Regions from separate parts of the Homo sapiens genome. Here region 1 is linked to region 2. The links are contacts of gene promoters, found by promoter capture Hi-C in blood cells and fetal thymus (Javierre and others, 2016). All regions are on one chromosome and are shown on one strand. The core of a region is centred on a gene start or on the middle of the fragment in contact, and the rest is flanking DNA. Distances in the headings are between cores, read along the strand shown.

Region 1 (5,507 bases), core at 2,185-4,684, 540 kb after region 2:
CATCCGGATGGAAGAGAAGGGGGACAACCATGAACTTGGTGACCCACGGTCAGCCTGATTTCCCTTGTGGACACATTTATGCCCAGTGTGCATTCCTCCTGAGGTCTGTTCCAAGTCTGGAGGCAGCAGAGTAGAGTGGAGAGAACAGTGGACTTGGAATCTCACCTCCCAGATTAGAGTCCTGGATCTGACTTTGATTGCTGGTGCTGCCTCGGGCAAGTTACTTTAGCTGTGTGCATCTCCATTTCCCCATGGATAGAACATGGGTTTTGGGTAGAAGTGTCTGATAGCTGTACTGTGCTTTACGGTTCATGAGCACGCACACATAGGCCCATAATATCATATCTCTGGTCACCCTGGCAGGTAGATATTATTGCCCCAGGTTTCAGGTAAGAAGACTAAAGACCAGGGGTCAATTGCTTGCTCAGAGTCCCACAGCCAGCAGCAGCCAGGCAGGACACCAAGTCAGAGTCTAGATTCCGGATCTTGCCCTCTTCCAAGTGTACCACATTCTTCTCAAAGTGGCCTCTCAGGTCTTTTGTCCAGAAAATTTTGAGACTTTGATGAGAAGCCCATATCTGCACACTGGGGATTAGGCCAGATAACCCTGTGTGTCCTTCCAGGCCTGGTATTGTGAGGCTGAAGCCTAGTGCCCCACACTCCCTTCCTCACCCCTTAGAGAAAGATAGAGACTCCAGGGCCAGCCTGGTGGGTGCTGAACCTGCCCTGCTGAGCCAAGCCCAGGAGGCAGCCAAGGTCCTACCAGTGACCTTACCCTGGGGGCCCCTCCAGGTAGGAGCCTGGTTGGAAAAGACAGACCGACTTCTTCTGGGTTGGCTGGAAAAAGATGACATACTCAAAGCCTTGTCCTTCCACTTGGATGCACCTGGTGAAGATGCGACAGTCACCTTTGTCTGGGGAGAGATAGGCAGTGTTGCAGCCGGAGAAGGGAGGGTATGGTCAGGATGCAGCACCATTTGGTTGAGTCTTGCCTCTGGTACAAGATTAAGGAGAGAAAACCAGAGGACACCAGGTCCACCCCCAGGGAGCCTTCCCTCTGGGAGCAGAGGCACAGTTGCTGTCCTCACAGAGCCTTTCTGTCTAGGGCAGAAACATGCAGGAAGTGCCCTGGCTGAGAATGGAGATAGGATCAGGGCCAGGGCAAGACTTTAAGAGACCATAAGCATTGAAAATTGAAAATGTAATTACTCATGTAACTCACATATAATTCAAAAGAATAATAGTAAACAGTAAAATAAGAGCAGAAAAGTCCATCAAAGTTCTGATTTTTTTTTTCCAAGACAGCTACCACTACTACATCCTTTTTTGGAAGTATCAAATTCTTTGAAAAAAAATTATGTTGGTATTCCTGCTTTGTTTGTGCCATAAACCCAAGGGTAGTCTGTCCCCTGTACCACTCCTTCATCACTAGGCAGGAAGACAACATATATGAGTGAGAGAGACAGGGAGATACACATGCGTGCACACACGAGTGCACACACACACACAAGAAGGTGGAAGCTCTATCATTAGGATCCATTAGGATCATTAGGTGTTTCAGGAGTGCTGCTCCAGACCCCGCACAGCAGGGATGATGTGCAGGGCCTCAGTGGAAGGGGTGTGGGGTCCAAGGGCTTTCATGGGGTTGGGGCGGAAGGCTTGGGATGAGGCTTGATAGTTAGGGAGGGGCAGTCAGTGAGAAGTCGGGGCAGGAGCTGGGCTGGCTGTCCTCCAGTGGGGACATGCTTGGCTGGGAGCGAAGGTGGGCCCACCAGGGTGTGCTGCTTCAGATGGGAGGAGGGGAGCTGGAGACCTGAGAGGACACCCGCCGCCTGTTGCCTGGGGCTGCAGCATCAGGGGTGGAGTTGGACAGCAGGAAGAACTCGCTGAGAACTGGAAGGCGGTCTGTGAAGTTGCTTCTCAGTCTTAGAACACAGGGAAGGGCGGCTGGGGTGTGTGTACTCATGGTCCTGTCCTTACCTGAGGAAACTGCCAGTCCAGATGGGAGCTTGAGTCCCCGGATGTGGTCTCTGTTGGACTTGAAGGAGGGCAGCTTGATCCAGCCGCTAGACTTAGTCTTCTCCAGAAATTCTTGGTACAGGCTCAGCATGTCCGAACACCAGCTGGCATTGGGAAGAGCATAATCCTTCAAGTCTGTCTTCTCTGGCAAGAATCTTGAGAACTGGGCAGGAAAAATCAGAATGACTAGACAGCATCCTGGAGGGGGGCTGCTGCCTGGGCTCGGGACCTCTAAACAGCTGTTCCTGGGTGCTGGGGCTTCTCAATCCCTTCTGCCAGAGTATCGATCCAAGGGAAAGGGCCCATATTCCTTGCAGGGGGGCTGCGGACCCCTATGGGTGACGGGGCATAAGGATGCTAAAGAGCAAGGGAAGGGCGGGCAGGGAGTGGGGCCAGAGATGATGGGCATGCTGCTCGATGTGGTGCCTTACCCTTGTTCTGCTTAAAACATGTGAGCAGTTCTTTAAAGTTGACAACTGCTCATATTAGCCTCACTGTACAGATGGGGAAACTGAGGGAATACGGCCAAGGTTGCCAAGCATGTGACTGTGAGAGCTGGTGGTCGCACTAGATGCTGTCTCCTCTGCAGGGCAGGGTCACAGTTGTTGAGGACCATTCTAGCAACCCCCACCTCAGGGGCTACTCCAGCTCTGCCCACTGCTGTGGGCCTGCCTGGGCAGGGTGGCTCCTTTGAAACACATTTGGGCCCCCACAGAGGTGTGGTGCCATGGCTGGGGCACAGACTATGTGCCCATCTGTGTGACGTAAGGAAGTCCTCTGTAGCGTCACCTGCTCATACACCAGTCACAACTGTAGACAGCATGTGAGCTGCTTGCCAATGCCACAGATGGGGTCCTCTGTCTGGGGATACCCCAGCTTTGCTGCAGTAGTCTGAGTCCCACAGGAGGAAAGTCATTTGTTGGTGGCCACACAAGACACAGAGCCAGATGCAGGTCTCCTGGTAGTTTTAGTTTTGAATGGGGGCAACTTGGTATCCCAGAGCACTTTCTCTTTGCCAAATCAAATAGCTCCTCCGAACACTGCCCACCTGCCCTGGCCATGGGCTGGGAAGAGGAGATTTGGGGTGCTCCTTAAGCCCTAGGCTCCTGGGAAAACACTGCCCATCTGGCTGAGCTGGGAACTCACCATGGAGTCTGTGGAGGATCCAAATGCTGAGGCAGGGTTGAGTCTGGGCAGGATACGGGGGGCCTCAAGAAGGCCTCTGTGGTGGCCAAGTCTTGCTGCCACCTGGAAGCATCTCCTTATCATGGCCAAGTGCAAGGATCCAGCCCTGCTTGGATGGAGGGTCTTGGCTGACTCCCAAGGAGTGCTTTCAGCTGCACTTGGGGCCGCTTCTCTCCCTTCTGTTGCAGGCTTTCTTTCAGAGAGCTAGGCGAGGCTGGGCTGGTGTGCTGCAACACCCACAGATGCTCGGCGCCTTTAGCTGGTCTAGGAGCCCCACCCAGTGCTTGGGGAGGGACAGATGCTGCTTGGGCATGAAAAGGCAGCAGGACTGGCTTGAGTTGCAAAAGGAGTAAACAAGTACATAAACAAATAGTATGGGGTATATAGAGCCTTGGAGAGCTGCCTGGGGGTTCTGAGGGAGAATCCAAGAATATTTCCAGAAGGATAAGGGAAGCCTGTCCCTTGATTGGAGGGTGCTGGTGGAGTGTTCTTGGTATGTGCTCTGCAGTGTATACCGGACTCTGAAAACTCTGGTATGATTTTGTGACTCAGAAAACCAACTCACAGGCCGGGTGCGGTGGCTCACGCCTGTAATCCCAGCACTTTGGGAGGCCGAGGCGGCGGATTACGAGGTTAGGAGATCGAGACCATCCTGGCTAACACGGTGAAACCCCGTCTCTACTAAAAAAAATACAAAAAATTAGCCGGGCGTGGTGGCGGGTGCCGGTAGTCCCAGCTACGCAGGGGGCTGAGGCAGGAGAATGGCGTGAACCTGGGAGGTGGAGCTTGCAGTGAGCTGAGATCTAGCCACCGCACTCCAGCCTGGGCGACTGAGCGAGACTCCGTCTCAAAAAAATAAAAATAAAAAAATAAAAAAAAAGAAAACCAACTCACAGCCTTAGACACCTCTTTTTTTTTTTTTTTTTTTTTTTTGGTGAGACGGAGTTTCAATCTTGTCGCCCAGGCTGGTGTGCAATGGCGTGATCTCGGCTCACTGCAACCTCCGCCTCCTGGGTTCAAGTGATTCTCCTGCCTCAGCCTCCTGAGTAGCTGGGATTACAGACACACACCACCACACCCAGCTAAATTTTGTATATTTTTTTTAGTAGAGATGGGGTTTTGCCATGTTAGCCAGGCTGGTCTTGAACTCCTGACCTCAGGTGACCTCCCAAAGTGCTGGGATTACAGGCGTGAGCCACCGCACCCGGCCAACACCTCTTCTTATATCCCGGACAAGGGTTAGCACAGGAGAGTTTCACCTGCTGGTCTCTGGCTGGGGATAGGAGTTGGAGGTGGGGGAGGGCTTGACAGGGAGGGCAGAAAATAATTTGGGAGGAAACAGCTTGGCAGGGATACTCTCATGTTTTGGGAACCCCGTGCCCAGGGAGTGGCTCATGTCAGCAGGCAGTGCTGGGAGTGAGGTGGGCGCGGCAGTGAGGCTTTGTTGAGTGGGAAGGGACACTCAGCCAACATCTGCAAGGCAGTGGGATTTGGTGGTGGTGTGTCTTCTATTGAATTTAAACTGCCAATTTTCAATTAAAAGTCTCAGTTTTAAATTGACTAAAATAAAAGCATGTTCTAAAGATCAGTCCTCGCGCAGTGGCTCAAGGCTGTAATCTCAGCATTTTGGGAGGCCGAGTGAGACCTTGTCTTAAAAAAAAAAAAATCAGAACTGTGCAAAGGTGGAATCATAACAGTGATGATGACGATAATAATAGTTGTGATGATTATGACATTTTGGCAGGTTCCAAAAGATGAAACTGATTTAATGCGGAAATTTAAAAGATTTGGTTCACCCTCTGTATTTGGTTGCCCTAGAAGAAGACTAGAATATAAATATTTCCCCTCACCTCCTGCAAAGGTTTGAATTAAACTTCCTCAAGGACTGGGGGAACCATTTTTTTTTGTTGTTGTTATTTTGTCAGAGTCTCACTCTTATTGCCCAGGAGTGCAGTGGCACCATCTCGGCTCACTGCAACCTCTGCCTCCCAGGCTCAAGCAATTCTCCTGCCTCAGCCTCCCAAGTAGCTGGGATTACAGGCGCTTGCTACTACGCCCGGCTAGTTTTTATATTTTTAGTAGAGACGGGGTTTCATCATGTTGGCCAGGCTGGTCTCAAACTCCTGGCCTTGGCTGATCTGCCTGCCTCAGCGTCCCAAAGTGCTGGGATTACAGGCATGAGGCACCACGCCCAGCTGGAAGTTTTTTTGGTTGATTCAGCCTCTGGGTCTAAGCAAAGATATTTGAGTTGGTTGCCATCCCCAGATAAGTGAGAATATCTGGCAGCACTCATTTTCAGCCCT
Region 2 (5,091 bases), core at 2,541-5,040:
AAGCCTTGACAGACGCATCCTCAAAATGCCAAAGGGGCTGGGTCTAGTCACTCATGCCTGTAATCCCAGTGACTTGGGAGGCTGAGGCGAGAGGATGACTTGAAGCCAGGAGTTTGAGACTAGCTTGGGCAATAGAGCACGACCTCATCTTTACAAAAAAATTTTTTAAAAATTAGCCAGGTGTGGTGGTACATAGCTGTAGCCCCAGGTACTTGGGAGGCTAAGATGGGAGGATTGCTTGAGCCCAGGAGTTAAAGGCTACAGTGAGCTATGACTGTGCCACTGCACGCCAGCCTGGGCAACAGAGCAAGACCCTGTTGCAAGAAAAAGGGCGGACGGACAGACAGACGGGTGGGCGGAAGGAAGGAAGGAAGGAAGGAAGGAAGGACGGATGGAAGGAAAAGGGCTGGGAGAGACCCCTGTGCTGACGACTCTAATGCTTAGAAACCTAGTGATATTCATGTTTCTGTCTCTTTCTTGCTCTCCCATTTTCTGTGGAGCCATAATGAATTCAGGTATTTCATTCTGTCAGTATCAGATAACGCAGGAGTGCCTGGGAACATAGTATCTCCTTCCTCTCCTGGATCTAGTGACCCAAGATAAGGAGTCAGGTTGGAAGAACGGCAGCTACAGAACCCACCCTAAATGATGTAAGTATTCACCTAATACCTGCCTCTCAGTGCCATCCATAATCTTATCCTGGAGTGGGAGTTAGATGTAAGGAAAGAGGGACCAAGGATCAGCAGAGTAAGAAAAGCCCTGAGGCCTCAGCTTTTCTGGTCCTAAGATGAGCACTACAAAATGGATAAAGAGAAAAGCCAAGCCTGACAAGAGGCACCAAGGAATTCACTTCCAGCTGCTCACCCTCTGCTACAGGTTTGACTCCAAGATGAGACAGCTATCCAACCCTTCATGTTCCACTAGAATCTGGATGACTCTTCTTGTTCTGCAGCAACTTCTCTTCATGACCCAGGGCTCTGCTGCCAAGCTCAACCAGATATGAAAACGGTTCATTCTAGTTCTGACAACAGTTTTGGCTTTGCCTGTGCATGGATGTGGAAGCTCAGATGGCCATAGCCTGGGCCGTTCTTCCCCACATGGCTTCTGACAGCTGGGGACCTTGGGAAGTAGATATTGAGAAATAACCAAGGTAGTTCAGCTGAATGATTATGAGCACCAGCTGGAGATTTGAGTCCTGGTCTGACATTCACTAGTTGAGGGACCTTGGGCAAAACATCTAATCTTTCTAAGCCTCAGTTTCCTTGCTGGCAAAATAATACCTGTCTCTCAGCATGGTTGTGAGGATTAAATGTAAAGTACTTGGCAAGATGCCTGGCACATAAGTGCTGAATAAATGTTAGCACTTTTAGCTTTACCATTATTAAACTATCCTAACAAAATTCCAAATTTCCAGAGAGCAGGCTCTATAGTCTCCCTCCCTCTTCCTTTTCTCTAGTCACTCTGACTTCCCTCTATTTGAAAGAAGTCCCATTGTATCAAAAACGTGGGTGGGTTATATGCCCCACAGAGGCAGATGCCAAGACCATAGCTATCCGCATTTTTCAAAAAGTGCAAATTCCTCCTTTTTTTCTCCCTCTTTTCTAGGCTGGGTTGGAAGCCAGGATGGGAGCCTGGCCAATGGTGAGTCAGAGGGGAGGACTGGAGCACCATTGTCTGGCTGGGACACCAGGTCACTGACACTTGGTAGTCCACTGGGCAGCTTTCCCTGCTATCTGTCCAGATGTGGAGTGAAGAGTGGGTATAACCTATTCATGTGGCCACCTCTTCCCTGCTCTATATCCTAAGTTATACCTCCAACTGCTGCTGTAGCTTCCTCTTCTTCCCAGCCTCCAGGTCCTTGACTAGGCACTATATTTACTCTATACTAAGAGTGCTTTCTCTTCCCTTTGTGCTTCTCCCAAATGGTATGGGAAAGATACCAGCAAGGCACTCTTCCCCCTAAGGAAAGGCAGGCAATGAAGGCATTCTCCAGATGCCTCAGTGATAAGAAATAAACCTTACACTTATGTCAACAAAAGGTAGGATCTTCAGAGGGTAGTGAAAAGGGATTAGATTATGAGGAGGAGTGGCCAGGAGAATGAAGCCGATGTTCTAACATCTCCCCTACCCCAGCACACAGAAAGACAATAGTACCTTTTCCTTTCCCACAGATGCTGCTCTGAGAGGCTCTGGTAGCTATCTCAAGTCTCAGGTCAGGGTGTGGAGGGCTTCTGCCACAGTTCTCATTAACATAGTAGATGTTAATGGAATGGCAGTTTATTTATTTATTTATTTATTTAGAGACGGAGTCTCACTCTGTCGCCCAAGCTGGAGTGCAGTGGCGCGATCTCTGGTCACTGCAACCTCTGCCTCCCAGGTTCAAGTGATTCTCCTGTCTCAGCCTCCCAAGTAGCTGGGATTACACGCGCCCACCACCACGCCTGGCTAATTTTTGTATTTTTAGTAGAGATGGGATTTTGCCATGTTGGCCAGGCTGGTCTCAAACTCCTGACCTCGTGATCTGCCTGCCTCAGCCTCCCAAAGTGCTGGGATTACAAGCGTGAGCCACCGCGCCTGGCCAGTGCAGTTTAATAAAAATGATTTGGGACACAGTCAGGAGCGTCAGCCTTGCCATGACCTATATGACCTGAGGCAACTCACTTTATCTCTCTGGGTCTGAGTTCTTCCTTTGTAAACTAAGGCAGGCAAAATACATGAATTCTAAGGCCTTTCCATTCTAACATTCCATGCTTTTATCAGTGAAATGAAACAGGGAGGACAGAAAGAACAGCGTAACCCTGTGTGTATATAGGAGGCATCCTGTCTCCATGCAGCCCTCTACCACCTTTTGTCTCTGGCCCTCCCCAGAATTTTACCTCATCCTCATTCTCCACTTTAGGGTTGCTGGCTGTTCGTTTCAGGTTGCTGCTGAGACTTATGCTGGCAGTGGCATCTGACTTAGAGCGCTGGTGAGTCCTTTTGGAGGGAGACAGCCCTGTGTCAGGGGCCGGGCTCAAGGAGGGCAGCTCCCTCTTCCTGTGAGCTGGCTTTAGCTCATCTGAGAGGATCAGCTTCCGTAGCTTGGTCCCACGGGAGTGTCGTTGAGTGGAAATGTGCATGTCTGAAGAATAGGCCCCAAGCAACAGGGCACACTGGAGGGAAAAGTTAATGCTCTGGCGGCAACGGTGGACTATGTAGGGCTTAATGGCATCACCCACGTCCTCATCCATGTGGATGTACATGTTAAGCAACTGGGGCAGATAGAAGTCCACGTCCTCGTTGCGAAAGCAGAAGAGCCGGTTGCCAATGTAGGCTTGTACTCCAGGCTCCTTGGAGTTATACAGGTATGAAATGGCCATGGAGATGTCAAACAGTTTTGACTCAAACAGCCTCAGCAGCCAAGACTGTTTAGCTGAGTTGTTCTGCCGCCGTCTTCTTGCTCCTTTGGCTGTGCCTGAGGCCACAGCGGCCCCCATCTCATCTTCCTCCTCCCTGATCTGGGCAGGTGGATCATCTAGGCAACGGATCTCACTGTCCACACCATCCCCATTGACCAACTCCAGTGGGGTGCCTCTGCTAGAGACTGCCACGCCTCCATGCAAAAGCTTGACTTTCTCCAACACCTCCTGGCAGGCCTTCTGGGCCACCTCAGGGTCAATCACTGATAGTTCCCCGACCCCCTCCGTGATGACACTTAGCAGGGACCCCCCATTATTCCCTGGTGGGCCAGAAGTGGGCTCAGAAGTTGGCTTCAAGGGGGCAGGCTCCACTACTGTATCTCCCATGGCCACAGCCAGACTTCGAGCTTCCAAGCTACAGGAAGAGGGAGGGAGAAAAGAACAGAAAGGGAGACACATACACACATTGGTTAGTGGTGCCATCCTCAGATCTTCCCTTTGCTATGACACCTTCCCAGGCACCTCCTCTTTTTGTCTTCCTGGACTCCTTCAAAATCAGATAAGAAGACATATCCTAGGAAGCTTTCCTGACTACCTCCACTTCTGATTACATTACTCGTCATTCCTCCTGTAGTTACTCAGCTTAGCCTCTGTTCTTAGCTTATATATGTGAAATGTTGTTTTGTATATGTTGTATTTATATAGATTTACAAATTCTTTTTGTTGTTGTTGTTGTTGTTGTTGTTGAGACGGAGTCTCGCTCTGTCACCCAGGCTGGAGTGCAGTGGCGCAATCTCAGCTCACTGTAAGTTCCGCCTCCCGGGTTCACACCATTCTCCTGCCTCAGCCTCCCAAGTAGCTGGGACTATAGGCGCCCACCACAACGTCCAGCTAATTTTGTTTTGTATTTTTAGTAGACACACGGTTTCACCATGTTAGCCAGGATGGTCTCCATCTCCCAACCTCATGATCCACCCACCTCGGCCTCCCAAAGTGCTGGGATTACAGGCGTGAGCCACTGCACCTGGCCTACATTTACAAATTCTTTTTTTTTTTTTTTTTTGAGACAAGGTCTTGCTCTGTTACCCAGGCTGAAGTGCAGTTGAACAATCTGGGCTCATTGCAACCTTGACCTCCTGGGCTCAAGCAAGCCTCCCACCTCAGCCTCCCAAGTAGCTGGGACCACAGGTGCACACCACCATGCCTGGCTTATTTTTAAATTTTTAATCTTATTATTTTTGAGACAGGGTCTTGCTCTGTTGCCCAGGCTGGAGTGCAGTGGCGCGATCAGAACTCACTGTAGCCTTGATTTTCTGGGCTCAAGCAATCCTCCTACCTCAGCTTCCCAAGTATCCAGGACTACACGCATGTGCCTCCATGCCTGGTTAATTTTTTAAATTTTTCTGTAGAGACAAGGTCTCACCATGTTGCCCAGCCTGGTCTTGAACTGAGCTCAAGCAATCCTCCCTCCTCAGCCTCGTAAAGTGTTGGAATTACAGGCATGAGCCACCATGCCTGGTGATTTACAGATTCTTCGGGTAGACTGAGAAGCAAGTCAGGTGTTACTCCCTTGTTCCCTAACTCTTCAAATACTTTTCTATCCACTTGCTCTTCCTGTCTCCCTTTAAATGCCTGCTATAACCTTTTTATTTTCCACTTTAGACTATATTTCCTTACTCATATAACATTCTAC

Evidence for each region. The method cuts DNA at HindIII sites, captures the fragments that hold promoters and counts their contacts. A CHiCAGO score of 5 or more calls a contact.
Region 1: a contact is called between the fragment with the promoter of THEM5 here and a fragment that was not itself captured in region 2, in 1 of 17 cell types (erythroblasts). The highest score is 5.8, in erythroblasts.

Annotation. Positions count from the first base shown.
Region 1 is chr1:151,850,278-151,855,784 of GRCh38, forward strand. It overlaps THEM5 (thioesterase superfamily member 5), which reads right to left and starts at 3,435. Exons shown (of 6, transcript NM_182578.4): 1 at 3,166-3,435; 2 at 1,981-2,182; 3 at 776-914. The coding sequence starts at 3,288. It overlaps C2CD4D-AS1 (C2CD4D and THEM5 antisense RNA 1), which reads left to right. Exons shown (of 4, transcript NR_152846.1): 4 at 1-1,258. The HindIII fragment of the contact is 9,012 bases long and covers 1-5,507 here.
Region 2 is chr1:151,312,697-151,317,787 of GRCh38, forward strand. PI4KB (phosphatidylinositol 4-kinase beta) reads right to left here. Exons shown (of 12, transcript NM_001369623.2): 2 at 2,877-3,813. The coding sequence starts at 3,785. Among named protein-coding and RNA genes, the nearest start is that of PI4KB, 12 kb to the right of the region's middle. The HindIII fragment of the contact is 375 bases long and covers 3,604-3,978 here.